Linked DNA regions of Homo sapiens: region 1 is linked to region 2. The links are contacts of gene promoters, found by promoter capture Hi-C in human tissues and cell types (Jung and others, 2019). All regions are on one chromosome and are shown on one strand. Each heading gives the region's core, a stretch centred on a gene start or on the middle of the fragment in contact. The rest is flanking DNA. Distances are from core to core; before and after follow the strand shown. Region 1 has its middle 22 kb from the start of TIAL1. Region 2 holds the start of PRDX3 (peroxiredoxin 3).

Region 1 (4,367 bases), core at 395-2,894, 440 kb after region 2:
TGGTACATACCTGTTGTCTTAGCTACTGAGGTGAATGAGATGGGAGGATCACTTGAGCCCGGGAGATGGAAGCTGTGGCAAGCTGTGATCATGCCGTGGCATTCTAGCCTGGGCAACAGAGCAAGATCCTGTCTTATAAAAAAAAAAAAAGAAGAAGAAGAAACTCAAGTTGTGTCACTTCTAGGCAGGCGCCCTTTTTCTCACAGTCTGGTGTGGAGAGGTGGTTGAGAAGCCTCTAGGCTCATAGGCAGAGCTCAGTAGAAGCAGGAGGAGGAAAGGTCAAGTTGGAGGCCCTCAGGTACTGCTGCCTCTGGTTTTCTGAGTGTAATTATGGATGGGCTGACCCCACTGCCTACCGTGGTGACACTAAGGGGAGTCTCCAAACTGAAGGGCAGCACTGCCCCCCAAGTAGCCAGAAAAATTCAAGGTCAGTTGTTAGCTGCAACCTTTTATCCAATAGCATCTGGAGGCATCTGGATAAGATCCATTAAAATACTCATTGTGATGCCAGACCTCATACGAACATTCATTTGACACCCACAACTACTCATAAGCCTGATTGTCCCCATTTGAACAGTGAGGTTTGTGAAATTAAGTGATGTAAGTCTCACAAACAACTGCAAGTTTAGGACTGACTTGACCTTAGGACTGTCTGGCGCTCCACTAATTCCCACGCGGGGGCGCTGGTGGAGGAGCTGATGGCAGCCAGATGTTGCAGTTTTTGTATGTTGCGCCCTCCCTTATTAAGTATCCTTCACCCAAACTGTGTGATATGGCTTGGCTGTGTCCCCATTCAAATCTCAACTTCAACTGTATCTCCTGGAATTCCCATGTGTTGTGGGAGAGACCTGGGGGAGGTAATTGAATCATGGGGGCTTGTCTTTTCCGTGCTGTTCTCATGATAGTGAATAAGTCTCACGAGATCTGATGGTTTGATCAGGGGTTTCCTCGTTTGCTTCTTCCTCATTTTCTCTTGCTGCTGCCATGTAAGAAGTGCCCTTTGCCCTCCGCCATGATTATGAGACCTACCCAGCCATGTGAAACCGTAAGTCAAATTAAACCTCTTTATCTTCCCAGTCTTGGGTATGTTTTTATCAGTAGCATAAAAACGGACTAATACACTGTGAAACATATAAAAAATGAACAACGTTGGGCGTGGTGGCTTGCATTTGTAATCCCAGCTACTCAGGAAGCTGAGGTGGGAGAATCGCTTGAGGGTGAGAGTTCAAGAGCAGCCTGGGCAAGAGAGCAAGACTTGTCTCTAAAAAATTTTTCTTAAATAAGAAATCAGCTGAGTGTGGTGGTGCATGTCTGTAGTCCCAGCTACTCAGGAGGCTGAGGCAGAAAGATCGTGTGAGCTGTGGAGTTCAAGGCTTCACTGAGCTGCGATCACACCACTGCACTCCAGCCTGGGTGACAGAGCAAGAACCTGTCTCTGAAAAAGAAAAAAGAACAAATAGAGGCATCTGCTTCATGGACCAGCCTTCAAAAGGAGCCTCTGTTGTGCTCCCAAGTCATTTTCACACTGGAAGAAGAGTCAGCAAGGTGGCACCTGTTATCAAATCAGCCCGCTGCTACCTCCCTAATGACCTCCAAAACTGCCCTGAAACTCAGAGACGTTCCAGGATTGATTGCTGTGTGTCCTGAAGTTTCCCTCTGGGCTCAGGTTCCTCAGCTTCCATGAACTGGCTGTTTGGACACCTACTGAACCCTAATTCTATTAGTAATACCGAGGCCCCACTGTAAACTAAAGATTAGAAATGTAAAGGCTTGGCCTCTGCAAACCTCGGGGAGACTCACTGGGCCTGAATCCCACACCCTAGAAGTCTGGTGTCTTGAACCCAAGATTTTGGGGCAGTTTCTGAAGGACTTTCTGATGCTAAAAATGATGGTGAAGGGCAAACGTACACCCAGTTACTCCCAGGGCACTCCCTTTCCTGTACTTGAATACTGGGCTGGCTAGACTCAGATACACATGCACGGACAAACATACACACACACACACACACACACACACACACACACACACTCCTGTTCCATATCTTTGGGTCTCTGCTTGCTCTTACCCTTGCTTCGAATATCCTTTCCACCTTACTTCACACAGCTGACTGTTGCTTAATTATGGAGATTCAGCTCGGGGATCACTTCCTCAATCCCAAGCTGGGCTAATGTTTTCACAGCACCAGGGTTGAGCACCATCTCAGCCTATTACATAAAATGGCCTGGTAATACATCTCCTCCACTGAACCAAAAGTCTCTGAGGATGGGGCCCACGTTCAGCTCCCTGTGGTTCTCAGAGTCTCACCGGATGTCTGCCGCGCTGCAGGTGCTCAGCACAGGTTTGTGGCTCTGTCCAGCGATTATATTCTCAGCCTACAGGCAGCCTCTTCCTTGTAGCATGGCCAGGTTCCCATCGTGCAGACTCATTACATCCGTGCCAGGGCTTGTAAGTTTGCCGCTTATCTGAGGTTCATCTGCAAGAAGCTGTAATTGAAACAGCTTCCAGGATGGAAATATCGTTTCCAGAATTTCATTTTCAAGCTTACAGCCTGGATCGTTCAAGCCGATTACAGGAAACGGTTGCAGTGCTGGTGCTCCCCGGGTTGAATCCAGATGGGTGTGTTTACTAGGCTGAGAAATGTTAATCCTGTCTTTGGCCTAGAAATGTCTGGCATTCACTTTGGAGGGAAATAGAAAAATAAGGTAGTACAGCCAGCCAGGCTCAGTTATATTTCCCTTAAATAATGCTTTTTTCAAAACAAGGTGGGGAGAGGGTCTGCTGGAGGGACCTTTGCCTGAAAGGAGATAGTGTGCAACTGTCATTGATTTTGAAAGTTCAGAAGAAACATTCTGAATAGTCAGTCTTTAGTATCATTACAAGGCTGGCCAAATAACCATGGGCCTGAATGCTGACAGGTGCATGCTTGGGGCTAAGGAACAGAGATCTGAATCTGTTCTCTTCTGAAGGCCATATGTAAGCGTGCATGAAGCCAAATGACAATGAGAGGAAGGGCCTGCACATTTACTGAGCCCTGGCTTCTTTGCCAAGCATTGTACTAAGCACTTCACATTTTTTATATCGTTTGATCCAATAACTCTTTGAGGTGGATACCACTACTACTAATCCCATTTACAGTTGAAGAAACCAAGATTCAAAGAGAGGCTTGCCCAAAGTAGCAGGGCTCCCATATGCTTTGCAAACACTTTTATAACTTTAAACGATTTTTTAACCCTACCACGTGCCGGCACTACAACCAGCCCAGCTGGCGGGTGGTCACTCCTGTCCTGTGTAGTGAAGACCCAAGATCCTCTGGCAAGTGCTCCCAGGCAGCAGGGCAGTGGGGCCCATTTGTCCCTAATAAACCTTTCTTCCATGCAGTGCTCAAACTCCTCAAGAAAGCAAAACACAACAGCTTCAGTAACTAAATAGGCGACCAGTAACCTGCCTGCCCAGAGCTCTCTGAGACTTTTTGTTTTTTTTTTTGTGAGATGGAGTCTCGCTCTGTTACCCAGGCTGCAGTGCAGTGGCGCAATCTTGGCTTACTGCAACCTCCACCTCCCGGGTTCAAGCAATTCTCCTGCCTCAGCCTCCAGAGTAGCTGGGATTACAGGTGCCCACCACCATGCCCGGCTAATTTTTGTATTTTAGTAGAGATGAGGTTTCACCATGTTGGCCAGGCTGGTCTTGAACTCCTGACCTCAGGTGATCCACCCGCCTTGGCTTCCCAAAGTGCTGGGATTACAGGCGGGAGCTACCGCACCCTGCCTGAGACTTTGTCTTCAGTTACAAGTGCAGTGAGTGACGAGGGGAGGGAAGAGAGCTTTTTGAAGCCATATGACCCTGGCATGTATTTCTGGGCCTCGCGTAGCACCTTCCCACGGGTGCTAGAGAGACAGGAGAGGAGGAAAGAGCCTCCCTCTTTCAGTCAAGAGTGCCACCTTGTGATGCCAGCACCAGAAAAGAACTGAACATCACTCTGGCCCCTGAGCTCAGCCCTGTGATTCATCCCCACAGCCCCTCCCTGGCAGTAGGCTCTGTTTGTGGTGCTCTGTAATTAGTTAATGAACTATCTGAATGATATTCCTGTAGTCATTCAACCAGCCCCATCCTCAGGGTGTAATTGTATTTGAGGTTATTTAAAAACATTATTGTATCCAAATAGAGTTTACATCAGCAGACAGCATGATTCGTAATTCTGCTATCCCTGGTGTTTCTAAATTGTGCTATAAACTGCCTGATGAGTCGTGCAAAAATGGCTGCACCAACAGAGAACAGTGGGGCTTCTCTGGCAAAAACCACCAACTATCTAAGGGGAAGAGTAGTAAAAGCAACTTGTGGCTAGAACCCAGTTGACTTCAGTATAGAA
Region 2 (4,690 bases), core at 1,200-3,699:
AGCTCTTAGAACATTTTGCCCACAAACAAAGGCTTTACTAAAGTATATCCCCACAAACCATTACATATTAAATACGGGCTTTTTCAAAGGCTAGTCAAATCTAGACAAGGTATTTTCAAATACCACTCATTATCTGAGGCTGATCTTAGCAAAGCCCATATCCTAGAGAAGGGAGTGTAAATCTCAAGAAACAGCTAAATTTCGCTCAGATTACAGATACCATTAGACAGGTCTGGTTCCTAAGTGGCCAGCTGGGGCCATTACACAGGTTTGAATCTTAGAGCAGCTGCCCTCTCAGGTCCCCCACAGGCTGCCCACCACTCACAGCTCTTCAGACACACTAGACTCAGAAGGCATCTGAGCTCCCAGTAACACCCTCCTCAACACAGTGGATTAGAAACTCTGACAACCAACATGGAAATGTGACAAGGGCAGTTTGCCTCAGTGATTCTCAACCCTGGCTGCACGTTAGAATCACCCGGCACATCCTGGTCTCACCCCACAGACTAACTTGTCTGGGGTGGGACGGGGGCAGTGCTGTGTTCCTGAAAGCTCCCAGGTGACTCTAACGTTTGGCCAGGGTTCAGAGCCCCTGTCCAGAGACGATGGTTCATTTTTCCTTTACCTGGCTCCAGCCAAGACATGACATAACACTTACTGGTGCTGAATAATTTTGCTTGACTGGAACCAGAACACAATAAATTTGTCAAGCTCGTTCTTCCACATGCAGCAGGCCTGAGGGCTGCAGTGGCAGAAATGCCCCAAGGAATGGCACTCACATGTCGGGCAACCTGGAAAGAGAAACTTTTTATTAGAAAGTTTTCCTGGACTGGTGACTGAAGGCTGAAAGGGCATCGTGCCAACGGTGGTTTCAGCTGTCCCTGTTCCTGTGAACCAAATAGCAAACCCCAAACTCTAAGAGCATGGATTGGATCTGCATGTTCTTAACACTCCCTTCTGCTTCCTTCTCCTAGGAGACTGGAAGGTGGAGAGGAACTATAAGAACACAAAGACCGGCTGGGCGCGGTTGCTCACACCTGTAATCCCAGCACTTTGGGAGGCCAAGACGGGTTGATCACCAGGTCAGGAGTTCGAGACCAGCCTGGCCAAGATGGTGAAACTCCATCTCTACTAAAAACACAAAACTTAGCCAGGCGGCGGTGGCGGGCACCTGTAATTCCAGCTGCTTGGGAGGCTGAGGCAGGAGAATTGCTTGAACCCGGGAGGCAGAGGTTGCAGAGCCGAGATCGCGCCATTGCACTCTAACCTGGGCGACAACTCCGTCTCAAAAAAAAAAAAAAAAAAAATCAGAAACTCCATGCGCTTAAAGCAACACAGGGTTCAGAAGCCAGGGGACTTGTGCAGGCTTTTCCCAGCACTATCTGCTGAGTATGTTCTACCATTTCAAGGTTTTCCTTAGAAAAACAAGGCCCCTCCAGCACCAGCGACAAGTAAACAAGAAGAGCCAAATTCAGCCTCTGGGAGTCTGTTAAAGGCTCAAGGGACATGTTTACTCAACTTTTTTTTTTTTTTTTTGAAACAGAGTCTCGCTCTTTTACCCAGGCTAGAGTGCAGTGGCGCGATCTCGGCTCGCTGCAGTCTCGACCTCCTGGGCTCAAGTGATCCTCCCACCTTAGCCTCCCCAGGAGCACTGACCACCATGCCCGGCTATTTTTTTTTTTAGAGACAAGGTCTCACTATTATTGTCCAGGCTGGTCTCAAACTCCTGGGCTCAAGTGATCTGCCCGCCTCGGCCTCCCAAAGTGCTAGGATTACAGGCGTGAGCCACCGCACTCTGCCGGTTTGCTCAACTTTAATGTTCAAAATGACTCAGGAGAACGAAAGGGGCTGTGTTGAACCCCACCAGAGAAAGCCGTGTACCAAAAGAGCACGACGCATTGCCCACAGTTAAGCAGGAAACAGCAGCAGAAACACGCGGGAGTGGGATTGGGAGGGAAAGCCTTTGTGAGTTTTTTAGCACTTTGCGCGTTTTTATCCAGTATTTAAGGGGCTGTTCACAGCAACGCCTTGATGTAGGCATCATTCTTTCCATCTTAAGTACACAGTCTGAGAAAGGCGAAGGCGCTTGCCCAAGATCACAGGGTCGGTGGCAGAATCAGGGCCAGGACCTTAAGTGGAGATGGGCCTGGGGACCGGGGACGCCGAAAGAGGAGGGACTCGGGGAAGAGACCGCGAGGATGGAGTGGGGAAGGGCGGTTCTGCGCAGGCGCATGGAACCTTCCCGGAGGGAGGCCTCTGGGTCCGTTACCCGCGGAAACCCTCCAAGAAGGGCGAATGGCCCTCATGCCCAGAAGCGCGGGGTCCTGTCTGAGAAGCACGTTCCCGGAGCCACCAGTGTCTCCACGCCTGTCCCCAGCCGACAGCCACTCACCGACGCTCGGAGCAACCGTCCTACAGCAGCCGCCATCTTCAGTGCACTCGGGCGCCACGGGGCGGGCAGAGACGCAGGGGCGGGGCCTACGGGGTGGTGAGCGGGCCCTCTGCTGGTGGGGGGGCGGGGCCGGAGGAGCCACCGCCTCCCCGCCTCCTGGAGACCCTGAGGGAGAAATTCCCTTTAAGGCTGAATGCTTGGGCAAGTGACACGTGGTTTTCCTACTGTCGCCCCAACCTTAAAAGAACGAATCCAGGCGGGGCATTAGGTATTTGTTTCCATATTTCCCACTGTTTTGTTAACCTTGTGTGGATTACTGTGTCTAGTATTTCTGTGACAGGATCCCTTTCTTATTTCAGCCTCAGGTAGAGACTTCCGGCTTCTGTATGAAATGGAATTAATTACAAATGCAGTTTTAGTCCGTTAATAAGCTAAGTGGGCTAGACACATCAAGGCTTTGTTGGCCTGAAATCCGCTGGAATTGTGTGTGGTCTAACATTTGGCCTCTCTTCCCAAAATTGGGAAAACTGGGACAAATTTAAAATTTGGTTTTTGTCTATTAATGAAGCCAAGTGTTCAGTGGTGAGCATAGTACTTGAAGCAACCACATCAAACATAGATAAAAATCACACCGTGGCCTTACAGTAAGTGTGACAAATTGCAGTCTTGGAGCTGGTATTTTCTTTTCTCTTTTCTTTTCTTTTCTTTTTTTTTTTTTTTGAGACTGGGTCTTGCTCTGTCGCCCAGGCTGGAGTGCAGTGGCATGATCTTGGCTCACTGCAACCTCTGCCTCCCGGGTTCAAGCGATTCTCCTGCCTGAGCTTCATGAGTAATTGGGATTCCTGAGCAGCTGGGATTACAGCCGCCTGCCACCATGCCCAGTTAAGTTTTTGTATTTTAAGTAGAGATGGGGTTTCACCATGTTGGCCAGGCTGGTCTCAAACTCCTGACCTCAAGTGATCCGCCCACCTCGGCCTCCCAAAGTGCTGGGATGATAGGCATGAGCCACTGCACCCGGTCTGAGTTGGTATTTTCCAATCACTAGTCATTCAATTAGCAACTTCGTTTCTCAAGTCTTCTTATCACCAAATATCACTTACTATTTTCTTTAAATTGGCTTTCTTTTTTTTTTTTCCTTTTCTTTTTTGAGACAGAGTCTCACTCTGTCGTCCAGGCTAGAGTGCAGTGGCACAATCTCGGCTCACTGCAACCTCTACCTCCTTGGTTCGAGCGATTCTTCTGGCTCAGCCTCTCGAGTAGCTGGGATTACAGGCGTGCACCACTAAACCCGGCTAATTTTTTTAGTATTTTTAGTAGAGATGGGGTTTCACCATATTGGCTAGGCTGGTCTTGAACTCCTGACATCAGGTGATCCTCCCACCTTGGCCTCCCAAAGTGCTGGGATTACAGGCGTGAGCCACCACACCCAGCCCAGTATATTTTCTAAAATCATCTCAGGTACCACTAGGCGCCACCCTGGGTACCAGTCCCCAGATGTGGAAAGGACTGCCTTGGATGTGTGGGGACACACGTTTCGACTATTTCACCTCACACCTTCCTTGTGTTTGTTTAATTGGTTTTAATTATGTCTGTGTTTAGCAGATGATTGAAAAGGAGACAATCATTTTGGAGCTCAAAATCGTACTGTAGGCCGGGCGCAGTGGCTCACATCTGTAATCCCAGCACTTTGGGAAGCTGAGGTGAGTGGATCACCTGAGGTAAGGAGTTCAAGACCAGCCTGACCAACATGGTGAAACCCTTTCTCTACTAAAAATTGCAAAATTAGCTGGGCATGGTGGTGCATACCTGTAATCTCAGCCACTTGGGAGGCTGAGGCAGGAGAATCACTTTAACCTGGGAGGCAGAGGTTGCAGTGAGCCGAAATTGAACCAGTGCACTCCAGCCTCAGCAACAAGATTGAAACTCCGTCTCAAAAAAAAAAAAAAAAATACTGTAGTTCACAATGGAATATTATTTATCCATAAAAGGAATGAAATACTGATATATGCTACAACACAGATGAACTTTGAAAACACTAGCTAAGTGAAAGAAGCCAGACACAAAAGAACAAATAGTGTGTGTTTCCTTTTATATGAAACATCTAAAATAGGTAATTCCAAAGGGACAGAAAGCAAATCAGCAATTGTTAGGGACTGGGAGAAGCTGGCATGGGGACTGACTATTTATTTTTTATTTTATTTATTTATTTTTGAGACAGAGTCTCCCTCTGTTGCCCAGGATGGAGTACAGTGATGCAATCTCAGCTCACTGCAACCTCAGCTCACTGCAACCTCTGCC

Evidence for each region. The method cuts DNA at HindIII sites, captures the fragments that hold promoters and counts their contacts. A contact is called where the count stands out against the background at its distance.
Region 1: a contact is called between a fragment that was not itself captured here and the fragment with the promoter of PRDX3 in region 2, in 1 of the 25 tissues and cell types used here (spleen).

What each region holds. Positions count from the first base shown.
Region 1 is chr10:119,616,417-119,620,783 of GRCh38, forward strand. No RefSeq gene overlaps it. Among named protein-coding and RNA genes, the nearest start is that of TIAL1, 22 kb to the left of the region's middle. RefSeq lists an enhancer at 481-775. The HindIII fragment of the contact is 4,396 bases long and covers 1-3,842 here.
Region 2 is chr10:119,176,363-119,181,052 of GRCh38, forward strand. It overlaps PRDX3 (peroxiredoxin 3), which reads right to left and starts at 2,450. Exons shown (of 7, transcript NM_006793.5): 1 at 2,393-2,450; 2 at 659-791. The coding sequence starts at 2,428. RefSeq lists enhancers at 1,329-1,973, 1,973-2,452 and a silencer at 2,483-2,592. The HindIII fragment of the contact is 15,713 bases long and covers 1-4,690 here.